6 separate regions of the Homo sapiens genome follow, and regions 2, 3, 4, 5 and 6 are each linked to region 1. The links are contacts of gene promoters, found by promoter capture Hi-C in blood cells and fetal thymus (Javierre and others, 2016). All regions are on one chromosome and are shown on one strand. The core of a region is centred on a gene start or on the middle of the fragment in contact, and the rest is flanking DNA. Distances in the headings are between cores, read along the strand shown.

Region 1 (4,565 bases), core at 1,067-3,566:
TGGGATGGTGCAGGGTGGGGATCCCCTGGGATTCTGGACTTGGAAACCGCTGACTGTTCCATCACTTTTCTCTCTCTGGTTGGCCCTCTGCTGCCACCATCCCCCGAGTCCCATAGGAACTAGGATGTCTAACTGTTGGTACAAATGACCATCATAATGTCCATCTGAGTGACCGCTTCGGGAGATGGGCGGGCAAGATTGCCCTTGCTGGGTGAGAGCAGGTAGGGAAAGAGCTGAACCCCTTGAGCTAAGGCAGAAGGGCCACCTCAACTGGTGGGGGACTGGCTGATAAGAACCAGGGGACTCTCTGGGCTCATGTCAGCCCTATAGTCTGTTCCCAGGATGGGAAATAACCCAGATCCAAGGTTCCAAAGGTTATGGGGCTTGCAGCACAGCCAGGTCAGGATGGCCGTGAGTGGAGGAGCCCTGACCTGTCCGCATGGCCCCAGATCTTGCAGCCCCGCTATACTTCCTACACACCAAGACTGGCACACCCGGGTGCGGCGGAATATCCCACCACCTGGGCTGCCCATCTCAGCACTGTGCCAGGCCAGCTGCCTCTCTGGGAGTCCCCGGGTCTAGCCCCGCCCCACCCCGGGGCCGCCCCGACCGAGGTAAACAGAGGCTAAAAATAACCTGGGCAAGGGGCGGCTGCAAGGGAGAAGGGGGTCCCTTCTGAGCCTGTCCTTGTCTCCATGGCAACTGCCCCCAAACCCGGCGGCTGACGTCATCTCGCAGCTGCCCAAGCGTATAGGAGGGAGGGGGAGCGGCACAGCCCCGGACCCCCCACCCCGGAACCGGGCGGAGGCTGTCGGGTGGCCTCACTTCCTGCCGGCCCCCTCCCTGGTCAGCTGGTTACATTCCCTGGCCGCGCGCTGGGAGCCAGGCGGCCTCCCCCGGGCCGGGCCTGGCCAGGGCTGAGTCCGAGCGGCGACGCAGAGGGGCCGCCGTGACTCACCCGCGCCCTCCCCGCCCGCTTCTCTCAAGCGGGACCCAGCCCAGAGTCCTGAGTCCTCCCCTCACCCGCACCCAAACCCAGACCCCTGGGGCGGCTCACCTTGCTCCTCTCTCCCGCCGCAGTCACAGGACCCAAGCCGGAGAGGGCGGTGGAAGAAGGAGCTATGCCAGTCCTCCTTGTCCCGCTGGAGTATTTTGTACCTCAGCCCCCAATTATCATTCCTCTCCTCCCTCCAATACCACGGAGGTGGGTGTCGCAGGGGCAAGGACTCAGATCTAATCCTCGCTTCTCCCAAACCAGCTGTGTGACCTTGAGAATACTACTAACCTCTCTGGGCCTGTTTCTGCATCTGCCAGATGGTCATAACCCTCCTCAGATGCTGTGCGTTGGCCGAATGCGGCAGGCCCAGGGCGCGGCCCCGCAGACTGCAGCCAGGGCACAAGTATTGTTACACGAGGCTGCGCACAGTAGGTGCTGGGGCGGCCAGCCTGGACACACGTTAGAACTGGCTGGGGAGGGTCTGTAGGGGAGGCCGGACTCAGGGCTCACCCTGGAGAGGAGGACAAAGGGTGCTGAATCTGGACTGAATCCGACCTCTAGCCCTGGTGAGCAGCCCCTTGCCCAAACCAGTTCTGCAGAGAGCCCAGGCCCGGCTGTTGCAGGAACCTTGCGCCAACCTCCATTTCCAGGGAAAAGCTCCGTTCCCCGACAAGGACGATCCTCTCCGGCTTCGGCTACGCCAGGTTTGGGCGGAGAGCCCGGCTCCAGCCCAGGCTCGGTCACCTCGGGGCCGGCCACAAAGCCGCTTAGGCCGGCCCCTAGAGCTAGGAGGATTAGCTCAGCTCCTAGGCCGGCCCGCACCCTTCGTCGCCCCCTCCCCATTTCCAGCCCAGCCTCCCCTGCGGCGAAGGCAGCAAGGGCTCCCAGGGAGCGCGCGTGCCAGGGCCCAGGCTGGCGCCTTGAGCCCGCTCTCTGGCCTGGCCCATCCCAGCGCCCCGGGGCACCGGCCGCCAGGGCCTTGCCGTGGGAGGAAGGCAGCAGCGCCAGGCTCTGCAGGCCCGGAGGCGGCGGCTTTTGTGGGAGAAGCTGCGTTCTCCACGCCCGGGGGGAGGGGAGGAAAGACAAGGCGCGGCCGGGGTCCGGGAGATGGGGTGAGGCGGGACAGAGCCGCAGATCCCGGACCCACCGGGCGGCGCCGGCGGGGGGGCACCAGAACCTCCGCGCCTGCTCCCCGCCCGGCCTGCAGCCCCGGAAACGGCGCGGGACACTCACATGGCTGCGCTGGGCTGCGCGGACCTCGCGCTGTCCTTGCGCTCGGAGGTGCCCGGCCTGGTCGCGCCGCAGCTGCCGCTGTCGCCGCCGCAGGCGCCGGCCCCTCCCTCCGCCCGCCGCCCCGCCGCCCCTCCCCTGGCCCGCCGGGCCCCACCCCCTGCGCTCCCGCGGCTCCCGCACCCCTAGAGGCGCCCACGGCTCGCTCCGCCCTCTCGGATAACGGGGCAGGCCGGTGGCCCACGCAGCCCACCAGCTTGCAGGGAGGGCAGACCCTGGGGGATGTGAGGGAGGCTTTCTCACGCAGACCCTAAAACGGTGAGCGCCAGGGAGCCCCGCCTGCTTGTCCCCTCCCCAGATCCCTCGGGCTCTGGAGACCTTGCGGGCCCCCTGTCCGTGACCACCTGAAACAGGTCCTGGAGCTGCTACTGCTGGCTTAGGCTGGTTGGTGGAAAGGATCCAGGGCTGTTGTGAAGGCCTTGGGGAGTCCAGAAGCCGCCTGGCACCTTCTGGGTCCAGACGCTGCCCTTCAGCCCTGCCATTTCAGCCAGCCTCAGCGTCGCTGTAGAGGCAGGCCGCCCTTTCTGCCACTGTCTGGCTGGTAAGTCCAGGCTCATAGCCGGGTCATGCATTCCCCACTCATTGGGTACTGGTTTTCGGGCAGTCTTGGGGTGGGGACGCTGGCAGGGTCCGGGTACAGGGCCATGTGTTGGGCAACCCAGTCCTTTCCAAAGCCGGGGCTAGAATGCTGGCCCTCCACACAGTCGGTAAAGGTGGGGCTGAGAGTCGACCCCATGTTGGGGTCAAAGGGCCAGTTCCACTCCCCCGCTCCTCCCATCAATCAGACACCCCTGGCCCTTCCAACCTGGACACCCCTGAGGCTTCTCCAGGCCTTGCACTCCCGCAGCCCTCATGTATGTCAGACCTACCCAGGAATGGTTTCAGGGACAGTAAGAGGTCCCTGAATATCTGTACCCCGCCCCCACCAGTCCTGAGGGCTGTTTTTTTGTGTGTTTTGCTTGTTTGCTTGGTTTTGTTTGGTCGGGTTTTTTTTTTTTTTTTTTGAGACAGAGTGTCACTGTCGCCCAGGCTGGAATGCAGTGCAAGCTCCACCTCCCAGGTTCATGCCATTCTCCTGCCTCAGCCTCCCGAGTAGCTGGGACTACAGGCGCCCACACCACGCCCGGCTAATTTTTTGTATTTTTGGTAGAGATGGGGTTTCACCATGTTAGCCAGGATGGTCTCGATCTCCTGACCTCGTGATCTGCCCGCCTTGGCCTCCCAAAGTGCTGGGATTACAGGCATGAGCCACCGCGCCCAGCCTGTTTGGTCGGTTTTTTAGAGATGGGCTTTCTTCATGTTGCTCAGACTGGTCTCTAACTGGGCTCAAGCGATCCTCCCACCTTGGCCTCCCAAAGTACTGGGATTACAGGCTTGAGCCACCTCTGCCTCACAGTTCTCCACTCTCCAGCCCCTCCTCTTGGGCTTCCTTTGTAGTGCCCTTTTCTTTCTTTCTTTTTTGTTTTTTTTTGGGGGACGGAGTCTCCCTCTGTTGCCCAGGCTGGAGTATAGTGGCGTGATCTCGGCTCACTGCAACCTCCGCCTTCTAATTTCTATATTTTTGGTAGAGATGTCCCGGCTAATTTTTATATTTTTGGTAGAGATGGGGTTTCACCATGTTGGCCAGGCTGGCCTCCACCTCCTGGCCTCAAGCGATCCACCCACCTTGGCCTCTCAAAGTGCTGGGATTACAGGCATGAGCCACTGGGCCGGTCAGTGCCCTTTTCTCTGAAGTCCTTAAACCTGGGCATGACTTCCAGGGGCTGAGTTCTTCTCTTTATTCACCCTACCCTAAAATATCATCCAGTCTCAGGGCTCCCATCCATTCACTGCTGACCATCCCAAACTTCCCTCTGTGCCCAGAGCCCTCTCCTGTTTCAGAGCCCCTGGCTGCTTTCTGGTTGACTCACCAGTCCTCAGCATTGTCCCCATCCCTACAAAGCACCACTGTCTACCCAGGCATCCACCTGAGCTAGAGACTGGGGTTTTCTGGAGTTCTCAAAGCTGGCACCAATTGGCCTCTGCCCACCCCTAAAGTCACCTCTCAGCCAGGCATCTTCTGAGTACTTTCTCTGCAGACACCCTCTGTTCCAGCCTCCTATTGACTCCTTTCATACTGCTCACCATGGCCAGGCAGCAGTGTGCACACCATGTGTGCTCATGGGCCTGACCCTGCCTGACTGTGTTGTCTCTAAGTAGTGTGCGGGTAGGAACCACAGAAGTCCTTATCATCAAGGTGCCTGGCTCATAGTGGGAGTTCAAGAAATATTTGTTGAAT
Region 2 (4,565 bases), core at 540-3,039, 380 kb before region 1:
ACCCCAGCCCACTTTTAAGGCACCTGCCTAAAAAACCTGCTCCTAAAGCATGTTCTTATAGGTCAGTGTTATCAACACCACCTGGTGTTTATTAGAAATGCAGACCCTCAGGCCCTACCTAGACCTATTAAATCAGAATCTACATTTTAACGAGATTCCAGGGGATGTGTATGAACATCAGGAGTCTGAGAAGTACCAGCCTCTGCCACTCCCTGGCAGGGCTCTGGTTTCTCTTTACTTTTCTGCATGGAGGTGAGGACAGACATCGCTAGAATGGGACCCAGCAATCACTCCTTCCAGCCACTCACTTCACAGCTAGACGGTCTCCTGGTAAGCAGAGGCAGCACCTCCTTCAAGCTCCTGCCAGCAACCTGGCATGCTTTTATAGCTCTATCCCAGAACACCAGGACAGGCTTTTTAAAAAAAAAAATTTTTTTTAAGACAGGGTCTTGGCCAGGTGTGGTGGCTCACATCTGTAACCCCAGCACTTTGGGAGGCCAAGGCAGGCAGATCACCTGAGGTCAGGAGTTTGAGACCAGCCTGGCCAACATGGTGAAACCCCATCTCTACTAAAAATACAAAACATTAGCCGTGCGTGGTGGCGCATGCCTGTAGTCCCAGCTACTCGGGAGGCTGAGGCGGGAGAATCACTTGAACCTGAGAGGCGGAAGCTGCAGTGAGCCAAGATCGCACCCCTGCACTCCAGCCTGGGTAACAGGGCAAGACTCCGTCTTCACACAGGCTGGAGTGCAGTGGCACATTCACAGCTCCCTGCAACCTTGAACTCCTGGGCTCAAGTGATCCTCCCACCTCAGCCTCCTGAGTAGCTGGGACTACAGGCATGTGCCCACACCTGGCTAAAAAAAATTTTTTTTAAGAGATGGGGTCTCGCTATGTTGCCCAGGCTGGTCTCAAACTCCTGGCTTCAGGTGATCCTCCTGCCTCAGCCTCCCAAACTGTGCTGAGATTACAAATGTGAGCCACCATGCCCAGCCTGGGAGAGGATTTCTTTTTTTTTGTTTCTTTTTTTGAGACAGAGTTTCGCTCTTGTTGCCCAGGCTGAAGTGCAATGGCACAATCTCGGCTCACTGCAACCTCTGCCTCATGGGTTCAAGTGATTCTCCTGCCTCAGCCTCCCGAGTAGCTGGGATTACAGGCATGTGCCACCACGCCCGGCTAATTTTGCATTTTTAGTAGAGACGGGGTTTCACCATGTTGGTCAGGCTGGTCTCGAACTCCCAACCTCAGGTGATCTGCCCACCTTGGCCTCCCAAAGTGCTGGGATTACAGGCGTGAGCCACCGTACCCGGCTGGGAGAGGATTTCTTATTGCCAGTTTATAGCCACAGATTGTGCCAACCTGATGGCCAATCCATATCTGAGAACCAAGTAAACATCAAGGCATTGCCCCAACGTTACTGAGGGGATCATCATCAGGATAAAGGGGCTTGTCTTTAAATTGTTCCCTCTATCACCACCTGTGCCTGCTCCTCTCACTCTTCCCAGTGCCTTCCATAGACACCAAAAGCTCACACTTGCCATGATGATGCTGGGAACCAAACCCAAAGCTTTATCTGAGCCTTGAGTCAAATCTAATTAGACTGGAATGGTCCCGAGTGTAACAGTTAATTCACTGTTGGGCACTCCTGACTTTTAACTGAGTATAAGGGACTATTCTCTGGCTTCCCAGGCTCTCATTCAGTACCAGTATGGTCCCATTTACTGCTCAGTGCTATAAGCATGTGACAGCCAGATTTTCTGCAGAACCCACCTGTCCACATAAAATCTGAGAATGACAGTGGGCCAGGACTGAGTTCTCCACAAGGCTGACCACTCTGCAGTAAGCATCTAGTGGTCTACAGTGGCCCCTTCACCCCTAGGCCCACAGATCCCAGTTACTGGTATAAATCTTCACCACCTGCCTGACTCCTACGCAACGATCTCCTAAGAGTGGTACAAACAGATACCCTCCCTTGTGCCTGTGACAGAGTCAGCCTCAGGAGGAAAGCTTCCCTCCCTTCCTTGTGCCACCTTTGAGAGGCATGACATGGGGATGCCCCTAGAGAATGCCAGCCCCCTCCCCAGCAGGAGGAAGTCCCCGATGGACCCCATAGCCACATCCAGAAGCTGTCAGGGAAGGTGATACAGCACAGGACCTCAAGTGCTAAAGGCAAAGTAAGTGGTGTGAGGCTGTTGGGTGACTCTTTTTTTTTGGGGGGGACAGAGTTTCACTCTTTTTGCCCAGGCTGGAGTGCAATGGCACAATCTTGGCTTACTGCAACCTCTGTCTACTGGGTTTAGGTGATTCTCTTGCCTCAGCCTCCCGAGTAGCTGGGATTATAGGTGCCCGCTGCCACACCCGGCTAATTTTGTGTTTTTAGTAAAGAGGAGGTTTCACCATGTTGGCCAGGCTGGTCTTGAACTCCTGACTTCCAGTAATCCACCTGTCTCGGCCTCCCAAAGTGCTGGGATTACAGGCGTGAGCCACCGCACCTGGCCAGCTGTTGGGTGACTCTTGAAGGAAATGCTGGCTGGGGCCAGAAAAGGCCCAGCCCACACCCCTGGGAGGAAAGCTGGGCCACAGAAGGAAGCTGCTTCCAGAGCTCCTTCCCCTCCACAGAAGATTTACAAGAGGCATGGATAGCACCTCAGCAGGTCCATATCTGAAGGAAACACCCTATGGGGAGCCCCCTAGAAGAGGGGGTTCTCACTGCCTTGGCAAAATCTTGTCATCCTGCCAAGCTCACCTCCCTCCCACATAAAGCCGACACAGACTCTCTTCTTCACAGCCTTCCCAGCACACCACTAGGCTCCAGCTGCCATGCTTGCTGCTTCCTGCAGTCAGCCTTGTCTTTTACCCAGTCAGCATCCTTCCTAAGGACCAACCAGCCCTCACTTTTTCTGTACCTTCCATCAGCTCCCAACAGTGCTGAAACCTCACACATTTTTGGAGGCATCAGGACTATCAATGGATCCAAAGACACAAACTGACAGCCTGGCGGTTGAATGTGACCTGCAGGTTAGTGTTTGCTGGCGCACAAGAAGCTGCTTAAATATGTGAATCAGAATATTCTAACATTTTAAGATTAGATTTTCTGGCCAGGTGCAGTGGCTCACGCCTGTAATCCCAGCACTTTGGGAGGCCAAGGCCGGCGGATGACCTGAGGTCTGGAGTTCGAGACCAGGCTGGCCAACGTCGCGAAACCTCATCTCTACTAAAAATACAAAAATTAGCTGGGGGAGGTGATGCGGGCCTGTAATCCCAGGTCTGTAATCCCAGCCACTTGGGAGGCTGAGGCAGGAGAATCACTTGGACCCATGAGGTGGAGACTGCAATGAGCCAAGATTGTGCCACTGAACTCCAGCCTGGGCAACAGAGCAAGACTCCATCTCAAAAAATAAAAGATCAGATTTTCTGGTTTCTCTTCTAAAAAAAAATCAGATCTGGACACACGAGGTCCTCATTGTGTGGTGAAACTGGACAGTGATGAGAAGCTGCTCTCTGAGATGGGCATGTTCAGTCTAGCTTGGCTGGGGCCCCACAGAGCAGATGCTGGGAAGGCCCTGCCCACATCCTCTCAGCCCACCCCCTGAGCTCATCTGCAGCTGTGGCACACTGCTTGGTGCCTGGCAACAGCTTCCCACCGCCAGTGCCTGCATCTCTCTGCTTCTCTGCCTGAAGACTTTCTCTAGCACTAGTTGGTATCAGGACAGCCCAGAAGCACCAGAGATTTAGTGTCCTCAAAGAAATTCTCAACCCATGAAGTACAGGAGTCAGTGGATTAAAAAAAAAACAAAACAAAAAGAAACTCACGTTCCTGCTCTTTGGTGGTACAACTATGAGGCACATTCCACATGGTTATTACCAAGGTTCCCAGTGGCCCACAGTGGCAGTCCATTTCTCAATATACTCTACTGACTTTCTCCCTTCCTGCCTCACTTTTCCCACTCCTTCACTTTTAGTTACTCAAATCACATCCCAAATAAACTATCTGCTCCCAAGTCCTTGTCTCAGGGCTCACCTTGAGGGAACCCAAACTACATTCTGATAGTCTCACTTTGTCCCTTTTATATGACCTGCCTGGCCCTCACGAGCATGGCCCTGAGGACATACCTCTGACTGAGAGCTGCAGGATATACCTGCCCCCGCAGGTGCCTCCCCAACATCCAGGACAGGGGCAGGACAGACTCACCTCCCCAGAGTAACTGTACTTGCCCCTGAGGATCTGCCGGTACAGCCGGGTACGGTTGTCATCCTCAAACGGCATGGTGCCACTGAGTAGGATGTAGGCAATGACGCCCAGCGCCCACATGTCCACTGAGTTGGTGTATGGCTTGCGGACCAGGACTTCTGGGGCAATGTACTCAGGCGTGCCACAGGTGGTCTTCATCAAGCAGTCATCACCCTTCTTGCGAGCACTGGCCAGGCCGAAGTCGGTGATGATGATCTTGGAGTCAGTGCCCGGATGGTAGTAGAGCAGATTCTCAGGTTTGAGGTCTCGGTGTGTGATGCCCAGTGCATGCAGATACCGGACGCCATCCAGCACCATCTGCAGCACCCGCGTG
Region 3 (4,565 bases), core at 1,153-3,652, 330 kb before region 1:
TCACTTGAACCCAGGAGGCGGAGCTTGCAGTGAGCTGAGATCGAGCCATTGCACTCCAGCCTGGCGAAAGAGCAAGACTCCATCTCAAAAAAAAAAAAAAAAAAGAGCAGCCAGCAATGCCTGCATAGAAGGGTTTGTGAAATGACCTATCAGCCTCCCTGGGCTAACCTCATTTGTTTTCCATGAGCATTCAGGAGCCTTGGATCCAAAAGGAAGCTGGACCCCAGGCCTCCAAGAGAGCTCAGCTTTGCACTGAGGATGCTCATGGCTGCTGCCTCCAGAGGGCACCATGAGCCCTAACCTCTGCCTGTTGCTGCCCAATCCAAAACCATGTGCCATGACAAATGCTGGCCACATGGAATGGCAAGCCCAGAACAGCAGGATTCTCACTCTTGTGGAAGTTGACAAAAGGAAAAGTATAGACCAGGTAATTACTTGGGCCAAGCGTCAGACCCCTGTCCCGTGGACAAAAGTTCAGATACAGAGGTGTAGCCAGTCCAGATAGGGCTGCCAGAACTTGTGAACTGGACACACTGGCCCAACATCCAAATTGATCCCCTAGGGTCCATTCTGGCCCTAGAGCTGGAAACTTACGTAAATTGCGCCTAGTTGGGTTCTATCATTATCAAATAACTGGTAGTAATGTTGAATGAAGCTGGATCCAATCTGCTCCCAAATTGGCTTGTCTCCCATTCTGGAGCGTCACCCGGCCTCACGGAGACCTGCAAGACCAATGAGACCAGGAGGGAAGCATTGGTACCATGAGAGTAGGTGACCAGCCACTGACCCCCACCCCTCACTGGCCTTCCTGGAGTCCTTTGCTGAGATCTGTTCTCTCAGAGAACACGGACAGGCCCTGGGGAACTGGCAGGAGACCCCTCCCAAGCCAGACCAGTGCTAGGAGCCCAGAGGTAGATCAGACCCAGCCTCTCCTTTGAGTTCTTGGTTGATGAGACACATAGATGATAGGGTCGTGGAGCACACAGGAGGGGTGCTAAGGGTAGATCTACAACAAAGAAAGGTCAGAGCAGGCCCTTGAAAGCCCAGTAAGGGGAGGGGCCTTATGGGAGGAGTTAAGCACTCCTCCAGTATCTTTCCATGTAATCCTCTCAACAACCTGCAAGGACAGAGTTATTGCTATTCTTCCCACTTTACAGCCAAGAACAACTGATACCTGTGTGTGTGTACTATTTTGTACTACAGCCCTCAGGCCCCCAACACTGTCCCAGGGCTACGCTGACAGATGGAAGACCCAGTGAGGATGTGGGGAGATTCTCAAGGCCCCTCTTCTTTTTTTTTTTTTTTTTTTTTTTTGAGACAGAGTTTCACTCTTGTTGCCCAGGCTGGAGTGCAATGGCGTGATCTTGGCTCACTGCAACCTCCGCTCCCTGGGCTCAAGTGATTCTCTTGCCTCAGCCTCCAGAGTAGCTGGGATTACAGGCGCCTGCCAACACACCCAGCTAATTTGTATTTTTAGTAGAAATGGGATTTCACCATGTTGGCCAGGCTGGTCTCGAACTCCAGACTGCAAGTGATCCACCCGCCTTGGCCTCCCAAAGTTCTGGGGTTACAGGCGTGAGCCACTGTACCCAGCCAAGGGCCCTCCTCTGCCAAAAACAGCAAGTGATCCCTTAGTCTCATGGGGGCAGTTTACTTCCCCGAGGCCAGGTGATTACCTGACCTGGCCCTTTCTAGGATATTTCTTCATTGATGGGAGTGACTCCTACCCACTTCAGAGCTGGGGACATGAGTTCAAGGATCAGAGGGAAAGCTGAGGGTTGTGGGAAGAGGGGATGGAGGCTGTGAAGGGAAACGTGTCATCCCTTCATATCCCCTCATCCCAGCATTGCTTTTACCCTAAGGAGCTGTCTCTCTCGGGTCTCTGAGAGGAGGCCCCCTCCCAACTAGAGACCATGGCTGTAAGGATACTGGATGGAAAACCCAAGCCCCAGATGGGAGAGCCGCTTGGGCTTTGCTAGGCTGCTTCCAAGTAGGGAAGCCCACATCTTGCTGCAGATCCCCTGACTGCAGACCCACATGTTTTTCTGTGGATGGCCCCAACTGTAGAGGAGCCCACTCCCTCTGTCCTGATAATAGGACTCTGAACCAAAGCAGTGAGGAGGTGGGTTCCACCCCAGCAGACAAGCATTCGCAGTGGTGGGATCTGATGCAAGTCACTGCCCTTCTTAGGGCCTCAGCCTCCTCCACTATAAGATGGGGATGGCAACCTGACAGTGCCGGTGGTTGTGAAGCTTCTCTAAAGGAACATGATAAAGCCCTCAGCTCAACATGGTAAGTGCTAGCTCACTCCAGTCCGTGTGACCTCGCCCAAAGCCAGAGGAGCCAGCGGGGAGGAATCGTGTAGGGAAAGAGTGAGAACGCAGCCAATCCTCCGCTCTGTGACCAACACTCAAGCCAATGAGGGAGCAGGAAGCTAAGCCAGCTTTATTTTAGGTCCCCTAGGAGGTAGTGGCACTAAAAATAGAAGCTCAGTGCTGGGATGACTAAGAAATGTCCAGGAAAATCTAAAGCAAGCAGGGGAGAAAGCTTGGATCCAGTCACGCCTGCCACACAGGAACACAAGGTGTGTCCTAGTTCATACTCTGCCAAGAAAGAAATCAACAAGTGGGGAAAGCACAGGACCATCATCTAGTCTTCACTGTGGTCTTGGTCACATTTCCAAGAGGTCAGACACTGGCTGTACTCACACACAAACTTAGAGGACCTAAGGCAGAGCACAGCTCCCACCTCTGGCATTTCTGCCCCGTCCACCTGGTACTTGCTATGCTTAGTCACTCAATGTGCCCTGACCCTGCTGCAGCTTCCAAGGTGCCATACCCACTGCCTAAGAGCTCTGAGGGTAGGGGAAAAGCTGGAGGAATGGATAAGGGCCACATCTCCTTCTACCCTTGGCTCAGAGCAAAGTTGGGCAGTCCTCAGAAAGGGTATGCCAACCAGAAGAAACAGCACCAGCAAATGTCCCGGGGCATGAAAAGGGTCTCGCTCTGTCCCCCAGGTCAGGGTACAGTGATGCCATCTCATCTCCCTGTAGCCTTGACCTCCAGGACTCAAGCAATCCTCCCACTTCAACCTCCCAAGGAGCTGAGACTCCAGGCAAGCACCACCACGTCTGGCTGCTTTTTGTGTTTTCTGTAGAGACCAGGCTTCACCATATTGCTCAGGCTGGTCTCAAACTCCTGAGCTCAAGTGATCCACCCAGCTTGGCCTCCCAAAGTGCTGGGATTACAGGCGTGCACCACCATAACTGGCCTGTGATAACTTTCTGATACAAAAACTCCTTGACTGAAGTGGTGGTGGAAGGAAATGGGGTGGAGGGATAAAGGAAGAGAAAGACCCTTTGGCCTGGTAGGGCAGAGAAGAGTGGGGAAGAGTAAGCTCTCTGAGGAATAGGACACATCAGGGGCTCCCAGAAAATGACAAGGAACCTTCAAAACTATGTGGGATTGAGGCCTGCTTCACTGTCTTGTGTTTATTTCCAAGTAGTGATCACAACAGCCACATAGTCAGAATCCACTGTCATCCAGTGATGTCGCTGGGTCTTGCCCTAAGCTCACCTGGTACATCAGTGCTGACACTGGGTCCTCTGGTCAAGGCCCGTCTCTTTTTTCTGCTAACTCTGCATCCCTGAGCTCTAAACCACAAAGCTGACCATGCTCCTCCCCTACAAACACCCTTGCTTTTGGCTTAAAGGCCAAACTCCCTAAGCTCCACAGGTGGCCATCCACCCTCATCCCCATCTCCCTAAGCCATTCCCTCCTACCTCGATCCAGCTACATACAGACACAACAGAACCTACCGAGAGCCTGCTCACCATGTTTTGTACACAGGAAAGTCCCCTCCTGCGATCCCCACCCTTCCCACGGGAGGCAACACTCTTGAGTCCAAAAAAAGAAGCAAGAGTGCAGAGCCCCCATCCTATCCCCATGCAACATGAGGGAGGGGTCCAGGCCAGGCTGGAAGATGTTCCCCAGAATAGCCAGCAAGCTCTGATCTTGTTTCTAACACATTTACTGTGCAAGTAACAGGCTGGAAACAAAAAAGCCCGGGCTCAGAGGCAGCCTCACATTAGACTGGGGACTGACCATCATGACAGCTTCTCCTACAGCTCTTGTGAGAGGGCCGCTGACCACACCATCTCCTGCTTCACCCCAACAGTCCGCAGGCTGAGGCCAGGCTCCTTGAGGAGCAGAAAAGACTCTGATGACCTCTCACCCACTGAACACCAGCCTTCACTGACCCTTAGGTCTCTGTGAGTGCAAAGACCCTCCAAGAATGTCTCAGCAACTGTGGCCCTCTCCCAACACATTTGCACAGAGGTAGAGATGCCCCAGCCTTGTGAATAATTTTCAACTGTTCAGCCATAGATCCCAGGTTAAAACCTCTGACCCAGGAGATCCCGTTAGACAACAGAAAAACTCCATTTTTATCTTCCAATTTTAAGTGTTTCCAAGAACAAAACTCAAAATAACTGTCTGGCTGTGAACACTTCATTTTCACTAATGCATATGAGGCACAGAAATGTGCAAAGAGCTTATGTGCACTTG
Region 4 (4,565 bases), core at 1,330-3,829, 290 kb before region 1:
CATCTGCATGTGGGGAGAGGGAGCTGGAGTCTGGGCCCACATGTAAGCAGGACCTGGGGCCCTGCCGGCTGCCCTCACCTTTGCACTTGGTCCAGTCAGGCCGCGGCGTGGAAGTGCGCTGGATCTCCTGCAGCTCAGAGAAGAATTGGTCCCGTTCCTTCAGCGTGCTCATGTGCAGCTGCATGAGGATCTCATGCTCCTTGCGAACCTCCTCGTAGCTGGCTCTCAGGGTGTCCAGCTGTGGGCAAGGACATTGGCCCTGGCCCCCCACCTGTGAGACCCCGTCCTACCCTCCTGGCCCTGCCTGCCTGCCAGCACCTGCTCCTGAAGATCCTTGTTGGTCTTCTCCTGCATTTCAAAGTCCCTCCTGGGGACCACATCTCCAAAGTTGGCCTTCATGTTGTTGAGTTCCATCTGCGTGCGGGTCAGGTCTTGCCGGGTCATCTTAAGAGCCAGGGTTAACTTCACAGGGTCCTCCCCCCAGATGCCTGCCAGGGGAAGGGGCCCACCAGCCCGTGTCACCGTGGCTTTCTCAGGGGTTGCCTGAAGCCCTCTGCCCTTCCTGTTTGGGGTTCCCTGGTTCTTGCCCACAGCACTACCAGCCTAGGGTTTCAGGCTAAAGTCTAGAAGCCCAGGAAACTGAGTACCAGGCCTGTCCAGCCCACTGGGAGCCTAGGCTGCCTCAGCTACCAACTGTGTTCCTACAATTCTCAGTTCAACTCAGAAGATACACAGCCCTGCGGGAGGCAGGGACATCTCCCCTCTGAATGGTTATGGAATGAGCAGGTCTTAGGAATGCTGAATGAATGGGGCTTAGGGGTGAGACCAGAGTCTTCCAGCGTCTCAGAGAAGAGAGAAACCCGATTCCCAATTCAGGCTTACCTGGCGACTGGGCTAATGACATGTCCTCCCGCTGGTACCGCAGCTCATTCAGGTCTGCGATGAGGATCTTACAGGCATCTCGCTCACTGAGGTAGTGCAGGTACTCCTCAGCCAAGTTCTTCCTCAGTTTGGTCACCTGGCAAGAAGGTGGCTGTGTGGTCAGGGGCTGCCCCTGGACCCCTGTATGCAGCTGGTCACCCCAGGGAGTGGGCTGGGTTCTGGGGGGCCCCATCAGGGACTGTGAACAGGAAAGGTGAAAGAAGAAGGAGATTGGCCATTTCTGAGAATTCGGCAAGGTGCCAATGTTTCCCCCTGTGGGGAAAGTACTGAGCCTAGCAGCAGGGCAGAGGGTGGAGTTAGCAAGGCTCTGGGGGAAGGTGGTGGCTCAGTGTGTCACTCTCCGTAGAAAGGCAGAGCAGGGTAGGGGGTCACCCTTGTCGTGGAGTTGGCAGGAATTCGGGGACTTGGTCATCATCACACCACTTCCATTCACCTCGCTCTGCAATGAAATCTTCTCCTCATTCTTTTTGTCGATGAGTTTTAGCAAGTTCATCTTCTCTTTCTTGAGCAGGGAGATTTCATATTTCTCCTCAGCTCTCATGGCCAGGATCCTCTCATTGCAGTCCTCATTCACAGTGACAAGCTTGGCCTTCAGGGGCTCCAGAGCCCGAATCTTCTCCCTTTGGTGGGCTAAGCAGAGACAGGTGGGAGAGCTGCTTTGGGGCCATGGAGAACAAACAGCCAGAAGACACCCTAAGGTCATGGGTGAGTGGCTATGTCGCTTGCAAACCCCAAGAATCTCTGCATGCCTTGTTCAAAGCCATGGTCCCTGTTTCAGGCCTTCCTGCACTTGATTTTAAACAAAGGGCAGAGTTCAGATGAAGACCGGGGTCTCTCCTATGTCCTTTCCCCTACAGCCTTAAGTCCTGCAGCTGCACCATGCCCTGCACCTCCTGAGCCTGGCAGGGGAGCCTGCTGACTCCCAGAGGTGCTGACTCTCTCCTGGGGTTCACTCCATTTTCAACAGGGACTGCCCCCCTGTGCTTCTCAATGACAGGTGTTGTCAGGTGCTCTGGGGTGCCCTATCATGGAACAGTCTGTGCAGAATGGCTGAGGGGCCTTGGTGACCTCAAGGCCCAGTTGGTAGCTGCCCCAGCCCTGCTGTGGAGCACCAGAAGGTCGAATAGGATCTTCTCCACCCCTTCCAGGCTGGGACAAGGAGGGGAGCTGCATTCTTTTTTTTTTTTTTTTTTTGCGATGGAGTCTTGTTCTTTTGCCCAGGCTGGAGTGCGGTGGTGTGATCTCAACTCACTGCAACCTCCACCTCCTAGGTTCAAGCAATTCTCCTGCCTCAGTCTCCCAAGTAGCTGGGATTACAGGTGTGTGCCACCATGCGCAGCTAATTTTTTTGTGTTTTTACTAGAGACAGGGTTTCACCATGTTGGCCAGGCTGGTCTCAAACTCCTGACCTCAAGTGATCTACCGCCTCGGCCTCCTAAAGTGCTGGGATTACAGGCGTGAGCCACTACGCCTGGCAGGAGGTGCATTCTTACCCAGCATCCCCTCATACGCATTCTTGATGGAGGATAGTAATGGCTTGTACGTTTTGAAGTCCTCTATGAAGAACTCAAAGATCTCTCTGTAAGGCTGGCAAGAAAAGGGAACCCATCATCTCCTAGCCCACAGCTGCCAACCTTAGTGGGGAACTGTTTTTCTTTTTCTTTTTTCCTGAGACGGAGTGTCGCTCCATCACCCAGGCTGGAGTGCTGTGGTGCAATCTCAGCTCACTGCAACCTCTGCCTCCCAGGTTCAAGTGATTCTCCTGCCTCAGCCTCCTGAGTAGCTGGGATTACAGGCACGCGCCACCACACCTGGCTAATTTTTGTATTTTTAGTAGAGATGAGGTTTCACCATGTTGGCCTGGATGGTCTCGATCTCCTGACCTCGTGATCCACCCACCTCGGCCTCCCAGAGTGCTGGGATTACAGGTGTGAGCCACTGTGCCTGGCACTGTTTTTTTCTTTACTGGGCTTAGCAGTATTCCAGCATGAGGCTGCCAGGTCACTTATATTCAAGTAAATGCCCTAGATACCACCCGGGTACCTCACAGTGCCACGGAGCCTGGGGGGCAGCTCTCTGGAGGCCTGTCCTGATGCTGTCTCTGAGGCCTAGTGGACTGCCATGACCATAGACAGACATCCACTCTGTGCCTGAGCCCCTCTCTGGCTCTCCAGGCAGCCAGCCTCTTGCCTTCTAGACACTGCATCATTGGCCTCTCACTTGTAACCTCTCCCCATCTTAGAGCCTGGTAGATTCAGGAGATTGAAGGTTGTACCCTTGCATCCTGACATGCAAGTAGGGGTGTGGTCTTCTGTCCCATTTGGACACATGGGAGGTTTCTGGAGGCAGCATTGCTCACTGAAATGAGCACAGTCTCCAGAGTCAGCCCTGAGTTTGAAGCCCAGCCCCACTACGCCATAGTGGTATGCTTTCTTCCTTATCTGTTCAGGAGATCGATGTAAGGCCCCAGCCCAGGGCCTTGCACTTGCACATAGCCAGTGCTCAGTAAATGCTTTAGTCAATGACTAAGTCAAAAGGCAGGGATTCTCTGTCATCATCCTTGTTTAAGCAGATTTGGTGATTCTCTCCCTACTATACACTGGTATCTGGGTTGGATCTGATCTCTCTCTCTCTCTCTCTCTCTCTTCCTCCCTCCCTCCTTATGCATCTGTGCTGGTTCCTTAAGCTTGGGGTTGTTGCCACTGGACTGGTAAACACGGTGTGACCCCTGCTTGCCCAACTGCCAGCATTCAGGCTACGTTCACTGATGTCCAGTGGCCCAACCTGGGTACTGGGGATCACAGAGCTGCAGGGACTGGGCACAGCATCCAGGCCACCTGACTCAGGTGAGGAAACTCCAGCCTCAGGAGACTTTTGGATCCACATTGCAGCCTTGCCTGCTCACTGGCGTTTTCTTTTTTTTTTTTTTTTTTTGAGATGGAGTCTCACTCTGTTGCCCAGGCTGGAGTGCAGTGGCGTGAACTTGGCTCACTGCAAGCTCCGCCTCCCAGGTTCATGCCATTCTCCTGCCTCAGCCTCCCGAGCAGCTGGGACTACAGGTGCCTGCCACCACACCTGGCTAATTTTTTTGTATTTTTAGTAGAGACGGGGTTTCACCATGTTAGCCAGGATGGTCTCGATCTCCTGACCTGGTGATCCGCCTGCCTCGGCCTCCCAAACTGCTGGGATTACAGGTGTGAGCCACCGTGCCTGGCCTTCTTTTTTCTGTTGACAGAGTCTCACTCTGTTGCCCAGGCTGTAGTGCAGTGGCATGATCTCGGCTCACTGCAACCTCTGCCGCCTGGGTTCAAGCAATTCTCCTGCCTCAGCCTCCTGAGTAGCTGGGACTACAGGTGTGTACCACCACTGCAGGTTTTGTATTTTTAGTAGAGGCAGGGTTTCACCATGTTGACCAGGCTGGTCTTGAACTCCTGACCTCAAGCGATCCTCCTGCCTCAGCCTCCCGAAGTGCTGGGATTACAGGCATGAGCCACTGTGCCCGGCCTCACTGGCATTTTCATGGGATGTTTCATGCTTCTGTTCAGGGAAGGAGACCCAGGAGAGCTGGGAGAGGTGGGTCTCCCCTGAAGGTCTGAGGTGCTCAGTCCTTGTAGGTGAGGCTT
Region 5 (4,565 bases), core at 1,161-3,660, 280 kb after region 1:
TTCAATGCTGTCAGGACTGAAGAGGTCGGATGTATGAAAGCATCTAGGGTAGACAGCACACAGGAAGGCCCCGATACACGGAAGTTTCTTATACCCTGAAGTGAGAAGAATGTGGACCTGAACGTGGGTTGGGGGGGTACCCATACACAGGCACAAGAAGGCAGCAGCTTTAAGTGGGGAGCAGGGGAGAGCTGGAGGAAAAGTGGCAGTGTAGTTTCCCAAGGGAATGGACACTCGGACATGGTCTCCAGGGAAGGCTGCTTTTTCAGAACCAGGATGCCTGTGTTCTTGGGAGAACACCCTCCCCTCAATGTCCCCACACATCCTCACCAGCGACAGAGGTTTCTGGGAGGCTAGGGATTGGTGGGGGAGAGACCAGACTGAAGAGGGCCTACTGCAAGGGGAAGAGGGGAGCGGAGAGGGCAAAGGAGCCTACAGATGGAGTTGGGGAGAGCGGGGGACAGCCCTTCAGAAAGGCAAATCCTCAGAGCTCCCAGGGGAGAAGACAGGGACCTGGGACCCACAAGAAGCGATGCAGGAACTGGGCGAGAGCCCGGATTTGTGGAATCCAAACCTAAGTCCCAGCACCGTGCAAGAAGCCAGCCCCAATCTGAGGACCGAGGAGGTGGGGGTGTTGGGGGCGGGTCCGCCGCTGGCGGTCGGCCTGGCGCACGCACACACGCACTCACCGATTTTGGCCAGACTGGCCACCAGGATCCACAGGGCCACCAGGTAGGGCGCCTCCACCTCGTGCCACTGCCAGCGGAAGAGCTCTAAGCCTGGGGGAGGCTCGCCCGGGGACTCTGGCTTCTGGGTGGGCTCTTCGGCCGCCCCCGCCAGGGGCAGCGCGAGCAGGGACAGGGCGGCGCGCAGCATCCTGCCGCCTGCCCAGCCGCCCTCCCGGCACCGCACGGCCGCCGGCCCCGCGTCGCCGCCGCCACCTACCGGGCGCCCCCGCGTCACAGGCACGTGGGGCCCGCTCCCCCCAATCCCGGCTCCGATACCCCCAAGCCAGGTCCAGGCTCCGAGACCCTGCCTCGGACTCTCGTAGTCGGGGACTCTCTCCTCTTTCCTCCCTAAATCAGTCCCAGCTCCGGAAATTCCCCAGTGCAGCTCTCCCCCAAGTTCCACAACCTACTCCTTCGAGTCCGCGCCCCCAAACCTCCCCAAAACCGCCCCCACCAGATCCAGAGCGGTGCGCGGCCACGGCCCCCCTGGGGCAGCCCGCAGCGGGAAGGGCGGGGGTCTGCGGGGGGCGCGGTCAGGACGGGAGGGGCACGGCTCCTCCTCGGCCAGCGCTGCTGTGCGGCGAGCAGCACCCCCCTGGGACCAAGGCGCGGCCGGGTGCAAAACGCAGGGGACCGTGCTTGGCCGCCCTCCGCCCACGTTGCCAAGCCCAGGACCCCCTGCCGGCCCCCACCCGGACCTGAGCTGCGCACGCGCACTGGACGCTCCCCAAAGCAGTGACGGACAACGCTGCCCCCAACGTCCCAGAAACCCTAAGGCCCAGACTGGCCCAGCTCGTGCCAGGCGAAGAGGGAGGCTGTTCTTCATCTCCCAAACCAAGGGGCACCTGGCCCTCCCTTTCAGTCACACTACAGAGAACTGTCTCATCTCTTTGATGAAGCTGACAGGAACCTATGGAAAACCCAGCCTACTGATTCCCTTCAAACTAGGCGAGATGCACCCAACTTTTTCCAAATCTGAGGGGCATTCGGCTCATAGCGCCCCAAACAGAGGAGGACCGTCTCCACTTTTCATTCAGGCTGAGGGGCACCCATCCCACTTTTTCTCCAAAACTGAGGGGAACGTGTTCTATCTGCCCCCTCAAACTGACTCCTCCCAATCTTTTCCCAGAAAACTGAAGGGCATCCTTCCCTCTTCCTCCCACAACTAAAGGGAACTGATCCCACCTCTTCCTTCAAACTGGGTGGAATTTATTCTCACTTCTTGCTCCAAATTGAAGGGACCCCCTCTCACTGCTTTCCCTAAATGAGGAAACCACAGGGACTCACCCCTCAAATGGAAGGAATGAGGGCTATCTTGTCCCTCAACTGAGAGAGACCTGGCCGGCCACTATCTAAAGAAACTTCTGCCCCATCTGCCCTAACACCCCTCAAAGAGAACGCAGCCTCACTATCCCCAGACCAAAGAAAGCCTCCCCGCCTTCTGCGCGTTCTCGAAGGTGGGGCGCGAGCTCGGTTTTTCCCGCCCTCCTAGCCAGTGAACTAACGGGATTCCCATTGGGCCCTGTGAGTGGCTAGCGGCGGCCCCGCCTCCGGCAGTGGTTACCTCCTGGCGCGCACTCGGGGACTAATCTTGGCTCCACCCCCTTCCTCGGCCCCGCCTCCGTCTGGCCCCGCCCCTCCAGCCGCGTCCGGTCCGGCCGGGCCCGAACCGCGGAGCTACAGTGTGCTTTGAGTAGAAGCTGCACTGGGGCCGGGACTCGGAGGCGCGCTGCGTGAGCCGGCCGCAGAGCCATGGCGGGCGGGGAAGACCGCGGGGACGGAGAGCCGGTATCAGTGGTGACCGTGAGGGTGCAGTACCTGGAAGACACCGACCCCTTCGCATGTGCCAACTTTCCGGAGCCGCGCCGGGCCCCCACCTGCAGCCTGGACGGGGCGCTGCCCTTGGGCGCGCAGATACCCGCGGTGCACCGCCTGCTGGGAGCGCCGCTCAAGGTGAGGGAGGCCGGAGAAAGGTTGGGGCGATCGGGGGTTCAGGGTGGGCGCCATGAAAACTGGTGGGAGGTGCTCCGCGGGAAGAGGCTGGAGCGAGTGTTCTTCTCCGGAAAAGTCTTGGGCTGGGGTCCCAGGGTCCACTCTGCCCCGCCTGCGGGGGAGTCCCCTCTCAAGTTGAGGGGAAACTGAAGAGGGGTGCCAGGAACTTGGCTCCGCCATTCTGACTGCCCTTCGAATTAGGCGCACCTGGGGAGGTGCTCGAGTTCCACTCGCCGTCGGTCTGCCAGGGTGGCTTCCCTGGTCAGAGTGACGGTAGCCGCTTGGGCTGTAGCGGACCCTGGAGGCGGAGCTGGGGAGGGACCAGCTTCCACCTGCTTCAGGTGAGGTGGGGGCGGGACCACGAGGAGGGGCGGGCCCGAGGCGGACTACTAGAGGTGGCAGAGGTTTCCTGCGGTGTCAGGAAGCTGGATTGGGGCTTGACCCTGTAGGTCAATGGGAGTATGGGAGTGCCGGCCGAGGAGAGACTTCACGGGGTGAGGGGAGTCCCCGCGAAGCGGTCTGGCCCGGGATCCGCAGAGCGCAGGAGGCTGCACGGGTGTAAAAGCCCTTTGAGTCACCGCTCCCGCCCCCACCCCCGGACACTCGCCGCCCATCGGCCCGCGCCTGAAAGTGAGAGGGAGGGCCGGACTAATTTTAAACAGCCGGCCTGCCCTACTTTGCTGCCGCCCCGAAGCGGACTTGTGCACAGTGCGGAAAGAGGCCCTTTTCCAGATGGCCAGCCTACCTCCTCTCCCCTCCCTCTCGCCGCCGTCAGCCCCCCGCAGGCAGCCCTTTCCGGCGCGCTGTTTCCGGGCCAGGACTCTGGGAGGCGCACTACCACCTCCACAAGCTCCCCACCAGCCCGGCCGCCTCCAGTGCTGGAGAAGAGGAGAGAGAGTCGGGGTGGGTGCCCTCCCCTGCTCCCAGCCTCAGCTGGGCGGCGAGTTGCGTAAACTTGCCCCTTGGGCCTGGGGTCTTCCCTGGAATGTGCCCCGGGCCCCCAGCCCGCATTCCTCGCGCTGCGGCCAGCCCCGCCTCTGAGCGCTGGCGGGAGGGGTGGTGAGACTATTGGCCTGGAGAGTGGCACGTGTCCAGGCCAGAACCCCGGCTTCAAGGCCATGGCTGGAAGGATGCAGGACACTGCTCACCGCCAGTTTTGACTCAGCCCCCGCTTCTCTTGCCCTATTCAGAGGGGCAAATTGAGGTGTGCCTGGAAGAAGCGTGTGCAGCTGGAGGCCACCTCCCATTCAGGATGGGGGCTGGGAAGACAGGAGTGCTGAACTAAGACTGGTTCCCGCTTCCAGGCTCCTAAAGTCCGGATCCTGAAATAAGGGTGGGGCACTAGAGAATATATTGTATTCCTCTCATCCTGCAACTCAAGGATTGGACCTAGCCCTGACACCACCCCCCCGATTTTTTTTTTTTTAAGACGGATTCTGGCTCTGTCTCCCAGGCTGGAGTACAGTGGGGCTATCTTGGCTCACTGCAACCTCCACCTCCCGGGTTCTAGCAATTCTCGTGCCTCAGCCTTCCAAATAGCTGGGATTACAGGTGTGCGCCACCATACTCAGGTAATTTTTGTATTTTTAGTAGGGACAGGGTTTCTCCGTGTTGGCCAGCCTGGTCTCAAACTCCTGACCTCAGGTGATCTGCCTGCCTAAGCCTCCCAAAGTGCTGGGATTAAGGCTTGAGCCACCATGCCCAGCCCCTTGACACACCTCTTCCCAGCTGGGGGCAAGCCTGGGAAGTCAGCTGCAAGAAAGAGGCTCAGAACCACTCCTTCTATCTCCCTCTCATGGGACCCGTGTCCCCACCCAACCCTACCAGGTGCTCTGCCCTGTGTTC
Region 6 (4,565 bases), core at 1,080-3,579, 270 kb before region 1:
ATGTAACTTCTCTGCCTGAGAGGTCTCTGTGGTCTTGGGTAGATGTTGGAGCTTCAGTCTCCTGATCTGCACTGTGAGGATCCAGGCCAGCATCTAAGCTGCCTGAACTCCAGAATTCTATGCCTCTGAAATTCTGATCATGGGAAGCTGCTGTATCTTTCTCTCTCTCTCTCTTTTTTTTTTTTTTTTTTTTTAATGAGATGGGGTCTTGCTCTGTCTCCCACGCTGAAGTGCAGTGGCAAGATCACAATCACAGCTCACTGCAGCCTCGACCTTCTGGGCTCGAGTTATCCTCCCACCTCAGCCTCCTGAGTAACTGGGAATACAGGTGCATGCCACCACGCCTGGCTAATTTTTTTTTTTTTTTTTTTTTTGAGACGGAGTTTTGCTCCTGTTGCCCAGGCTGGAGTGCAATGGCGCAATCTCAGCTCACCACAACCTCCGCCTCCCAGGTTCAAGTAATTCTCCTGCCTCAGCCTCCTGAGTAGCTGGGCTTACAGGCATGTGCCACCACACCAGGCTAATTTTGTATTTTTAGTAGAGATGGGGTTTCTCCATGTTGGTCAGGCTGGTCTCAAACTCCTGACCTCAGGTGATTCGCCTGCCTTGGCCTCCCAAAGTGCTGGGATTACAGGTGTGGGCCACCGCACCCAGCCTAATTTTTTAAATTATTTGTAGAGATGAGGTCTTGCTATGTTGCCCAGGCTGGTCTCTAGTGATCCTCCCACCTTGGCCTCTCAAACTGCTGGGACTACAGGCATGAGCTACTGCACCCGGCCATCTTTCATTTTTATCCCCATCTAGTGCGTTTACAGACAGGAAAGTTAAATTTATGGGAGGGCTTCAAAGCTCCTATTTTCACCTTCCACCGTCTGATAGAAGCACATATATTTAGTGTGCTTGAACTAGTGTGAATGAGAATAGCCCCTTAAAACAAGCACCTTGAAAATAATGTTGACTAAAATGGTGGTGCTGGAGTCTCATACTGCCACAGAAACTGAAGTGCACTTCTTAAATTTGTAGGGAGGAAAATGGATTGTTTTCTCCTAGTCTTTATCATAGATAACAGCTGAGTTAGTTATCTAGGTAGAGAGCAGAGACCAACTTCAGAAGGGAAGTGTTTACACTTAGAGACCTGGATTCTTTTTTTCTTTTTGTATTTTTTGAGAGATGAGGTCTGGCTATGTTGGAGATCTGGATTCTTTCAACTGGTTTTAACATTTCAGTTTTAGTCGATCTTGCTGTGTCATGTTAGATTGGTGAACTATAGGTGTTGACTGGAAGTCTAAAGAAAGGTGGGCATCTATTCCCAGCATTTTACATGTGGTAAACATGGCTGTTGAGCTGATCTGGAAACATCAGATGTTAATTAATTAATTTATTTATTTGCCACACAGTCTCCTTTATCATCCAGGCTGGAGTGCATTGACTCAATCTCGGCTCATTGCAACCTCTACTTTCTGGGTTCAAGTGATTCTCCTGCCTCAGCCTCCCGAGTAGCTGGGATTACAGGCATACGCCACCACGCCTGGCTAATTTTTGTATTTTTAGTAGAGATGGGGTTTCGCCATGTTGGCCAGGCTGGTTTCGAACTCCTGACCTCAGGTGATTCACCTGCGTCAGTCTCCCAAAGTGCTAAGATTACAGGCATGAGCCATGGTGCCCAGCAAGGAAACATCAGTTTTAGAAAGGTCTCAGGTCATGTATACCTGTGGTATCCTGCTTCAGTTGACCACTGTCAGATGGCAAGAGTATGAATAGCTCCTCATGGTCTCTTTATGGAATCCCTGAAAGCCTTCCCATGGCTGGGATGCAGCCACATGTTAGTATGGGCCAGGTGGGTTTTGAGGAGGCCAAAGGCAGTTACACAGGGCAGGCAGACATCAACTGGCTCATTTCCCTTTTTTTGTAGATTTTTTTTTTTTTTTTTGAGGCAGGGTCTCGCTCTGTTGCTCAGGCTGGAGTGCAATGGCATGATCACAGCTCACCGCCACCTCAACTTCCTGGGCTCAGTCAATCCTCCCACCTCAGCTTCCTGAGTAGCTGGGACTATAGGTGTGTGCCATCATGCTTGGCTCATTTTCTTATTTTTTGTAGAGATGGGGTCTCACAATGTTTCCTAGGCTGGTCTTGAATTCCTGGGCTCAAGTATTTCTTCCACCTCAGCCTTCCAAAGTGCTGGGATTATAGTCATGAGCCACCATGCCCAGCTGATTTTTTTTTTAACTATTTTATAGAGATGGGATCTTGCTGTGTTGTCTAGGCTGGTCTCCAACTCCTAGCCTCAAGTGATCCTCCTGCCTCAAAGTGATCCAAAGTGCTGGGATTGCAGGCAGGAGCCACCATTGTCAGCCTCCCATGGATTTTGGAGGTGTGTTTTTTATCCTGGTTTAGTCCATGACCCAAGCATTAACTGGTTGTCTAGCTTTCCTGTGTTACCTAGTTTGATCCTCACAGCATCTCTGGCAAGTGGCTAGAGCAGGTGATCATCTACCTTCCCATTTTGTGAGTGAGCCCTGAGTCCCTGGGATGTTTGGTGGCCTACCCTGGCTGCAGGGCTTAGGGTGTGCAGTGGAGTAGCCTGACTTATCAGATGTCCTCGCCTGATCCTAGACACACATGTCCATGCTGCTGCTGCCTTTCCCCATTGTAGCTGTTGCATTTCTTCCCTGGGTAGAGTGAAGGAATGTTCTGTTGGATTCCTACCAGATTGCAATGTTAGGGGACAGAGCTGAAAGGTGCATGGTGCTGTGTAGGGCCAGAGAATTGTGGCATGCTCTGGGCCGGGCTTGATCAACTTACTGTTCCATTTAATCTGTAAACTTGCTTTTCTGTAGATTTGAGTACACCTCCTTTGTAAAAGGTATTTATAAACCCAGTTGTTAGTGTCATTGTTCTCCAGAACGTCCTTTGTTTTGACAATATCTTTTGGAGAAGAACACACTAAGCTAGTCTAATAAGGAAAGTTTCATGTCAAGATTTCACAGAATATTTATATATACCTACTATGTTCCAGGCCCTATACTAGGTATAGGGAGAACAGATGTAAAGCCAGCACAGATCAGCTTTGTCCTCAGGAAGCCTGTGGCCCATTCAGTAGAGAGTGGACTGAAAGTCTTTCTGCAAGAGGAGGCAGAGCCTGGGAACAGTTGGGAGGAATGAGTAGGAGTTCCCCAGTAGGCGAGACCTGTTAGACCTATGAGTCTGATGGGTAACTAGCTTGACTTCTGGGTGCTAGGCTTTCTGGGCACTCCTCAAGTATAAGAGAGCTCTGTGGAGTAGGAGGGGCTGTGTTTGAGCTAAGAGCTTGGCACAGACTGATGGGCTTCAACTGCATTTTGCCGAGTCACCAGAGCTGTGAACTCGGGGAGCGGGTCTGGTGGGGTGAGGAGACATCAGAGCACTGCCAGTGGTGCCAGGAGATAAGGGGCATCCAGGTCTGTCTTTCTAGGAAGCGAAGGAGGGCCTGAAGCTGAGGGTCCCTGGGGAGGAGCAATGTCTGCAGGCAGAGTTCATGGACCTGTGGGTGTCCCTGGCTCTTAGTGATGACACATGGAGGGTGTGGCTGGCTAGGCTGACAGATGCTCCAGTGTGACCCTCAAAATAGACTGTAACATCATCCCAGCGGCGGAGGCCTCCTGACATGTGATGGTTGCTTTACCCAAGAGTAGTAGGCCTGGGCTAGAGCACTGGAAGGCATGGAGAGGGGTGGGGGCATTTTCCTCTGTAGCCAGTGTCTGGGCCCAGGCCCAGAGCAGGGGTCTCTGACCACAGCCAGCCTTCCCTTGCTCCTGCAGCTGACTTCCTTTGGCCAGGCAGCAGTGCACTCATTCATTCATTCCAGACACCAGGGCGCAGTACCCATTGTTTTTTTTTTTTGGTTGTTGTTGTTGTTGTTGTTTTTGAAACAGAGTCTCGCTCTGTTGCCAGGCTGGAGTGCAGTGGCACAATCTTGGCTCACTGCAAACCTCCGCCTCCTGGGTTCAAGTGATTCCCCTGCCTCACCCTCCCGAGTAGCTGGGACTACAGGCGTGCACCACCATGCCCAGCTAGTTTTTGTATTTTTAGTAGAGACGGTGTTTCACCATGTTGGCCAGGATGTTCTAGATCTCTTGACCTCATGATCTGCCCTCCTCAGCCTCCCAAAGTGCTAGGATTACAGGTGTGAGCCATCACATCCATTGTTTTGTCCCAGCCTGGGCCCCAGGAGCACAGGCATGAGGCCCCACCGGTGGTGTCGAAGGGTCAGGCCACCGTATGTGTCATATCCAGGGGTGGCCTGGAGGATGGACTGTACCTCAGAGTTTGAGGAAAACATCATAGAATCATATAAGAGGTGATGTGGGCTCTGGAAAGAGGAGTTAGAGTGTTCTAGGTGAACAAAGTGAGAAGCAGATGCTTCAGGCAGAAGAAACAGTGCATAAAAAGACATGGAGCTGGCCGGGCGCAGTGGCTCACACCTGTATTCCCGGCACTTTGGGAGGCCAAGGCGGGCGGATCACGAGGTAAGGAGATCGAGACCATCGTGGCTAACATGGTGAAACCCCGTCTCTACTAAAAATACA

Evidence for each region. The method cuts DNA at HindIII sites, captures the fragments that hold promoters and counts their contacts. A CHiCAGO score of 5 or more calls a contact.
Region 2: a contact is called between a fragment that was not itself captured here and the fragment with the promoter of RIPOR1 in region 1, in 2 of 17 cell types (naive CD4 T cells and endothelial precursors). The highest score is 6.7, in naive CD4 T cells.
Region 3: a contact is called between a fragment that was not itself captured here and the fragment with the promoter of RIPOR1 in region 1, in 1 of 17 cell types (endothelial precursors). The highest score is 5.7, in endothelial precursors.
Region 4: a fragment that was not itself captured here is called in contact with the fragment with the promoter of RIPOR1 in region 1 in 1 of 17 cell types (endothelial precursors); the score reaches 5.7 in endothelial precursors.
Region 5: a contact is called between the fragment with the promoter of FHOD1 here and the fragment with the promoter of RIPOR1 in region 1, in 1 of 17 cell types (endothelial precursors). The highest score is 7.0, in endothelial precursors.
Region 6: a contact is called between a fragment that was not itself captured here and the fragment with the promoter of RIPOR1 in region 1, in 3 of 17 cell types (erythroblasts, endothelial precursors and M2 macrophages). The highest score is 5.3, in erythroblasts.

The regions. Positions count from the first base shown.
Region 1 is chr16:67,526,580-67,531,144 of GRCh38, reverse strand. It overlaps RIPOR1 (RHO family interacting cell polarization regulator 1), which reads right to left and starts at 2,316. Exons shown (of 22, transcript NM_024519.4): 1 at 2,231-2,316. LOC100505942 (a long non-coding RNA gene) reads left to right here and starts at 2,400. Exons shown (of 2, transcript NR_104656.1): 1 at 2,400-2,828. RefSeq lists silencers at 710-989, 1,990-2,219, 2,250-2,359. The HindIII fragment of the contact is 8,124 bases long and covers 1-4,565 here.
Region 2 is chr16:67,909,334-67,913,898 of GRCh38, reverse strand. It overlaps PSKH1 (protein serine kinase H1), which reads right to left. Exons shown (of 3, transcript NM_006742.3): 2 at 4,193-4,565. Among named protein-coding and RNA genes, the nearest start is that of PSKH1, 18 kb to the right of the region's middle. RefSeq lists a silencer at 3,457-3,669. The HindIII fragment of the contact is 440 bases long and covers 1,570-2,009 here.
Region 3 is chr16:67,861,259-67,865,823 of GRCh38, reverse strand. NUTF2 (nuclear transport factor 2) reads right to left here. Exons shown (of 5, transcript NM_005796.3): 2 at 595-722. The coding sequence starts at 693. Among named protein-coding and RNA genes, the nearest start is that of EDC4, 9.5 kb to the left of the region's middle. The HindIII fragment of the contact is 295 bases long and covers 2,255-2,549 here.
Region 4 is chr16:67,821,590-67,826,154 of GRCh38, reverse strand. TSNAXIP1 (translin associated factor X interacting protein 1) reads right to left here. Exons shown (of 16, transcript NM_001288990.3): 5 at 2,436-2,529; 6 at 1,376-1,572; 7 at 883-1,018; 8 at 319-488; 9 at 79-238; 10 at 1-3. Among named protein-coding and RNA genes, the nearest start is that of TSNAXIP1, 17 kb to the right of the region's middle. RefSeq lists an enhancer at 1-665. The HindIII fragment of the contact is 2,103 bases long and covers 1,528-3,630 here.
Region 5 is chr16:67,245,326-67,249,890 of GRCh38, reverse strand. FHOD1 (formin homology 2 domain containing 1) reads left to right here and starts at 2,410. Exons shown (of 22, transcript NM_013241.3): 1 at 2,410-2,681. The coding sequence starts at 2,481. SLC9A5 (solute carrier family 9 member A5) reads right to left here and starts at 912. Exons shown (of 16, transcript NM_004594.3): 1 at 690-912. The coding sequence starts at 876. RefSeq lists enhancers at 174-673, 674-1,175, 3,576-4,235 and silencers at 851-960, 1,261-1,350, 1,371-1,460, 2,103-2,472, 3,373-3,472. The HindIII fragment of the contact is 13,502 bases long and covers 1-4,565 here.
Region 6 is chr16:67,799,460-67,804,024 of GRCh38, reverse strand. The region is part of intron 2 of RANBP10 (RAN binding protein 10); the gene reads left to right. Among named protein-coding and RNA genes, the nearest start is that of RANBP10, 4.8 kb to the left of the region's middle. RefSeq lists an enhancer at 1,797-1,876. The HindIII fragment of the contact is 6,576 bases long and covers 1-4,565 here.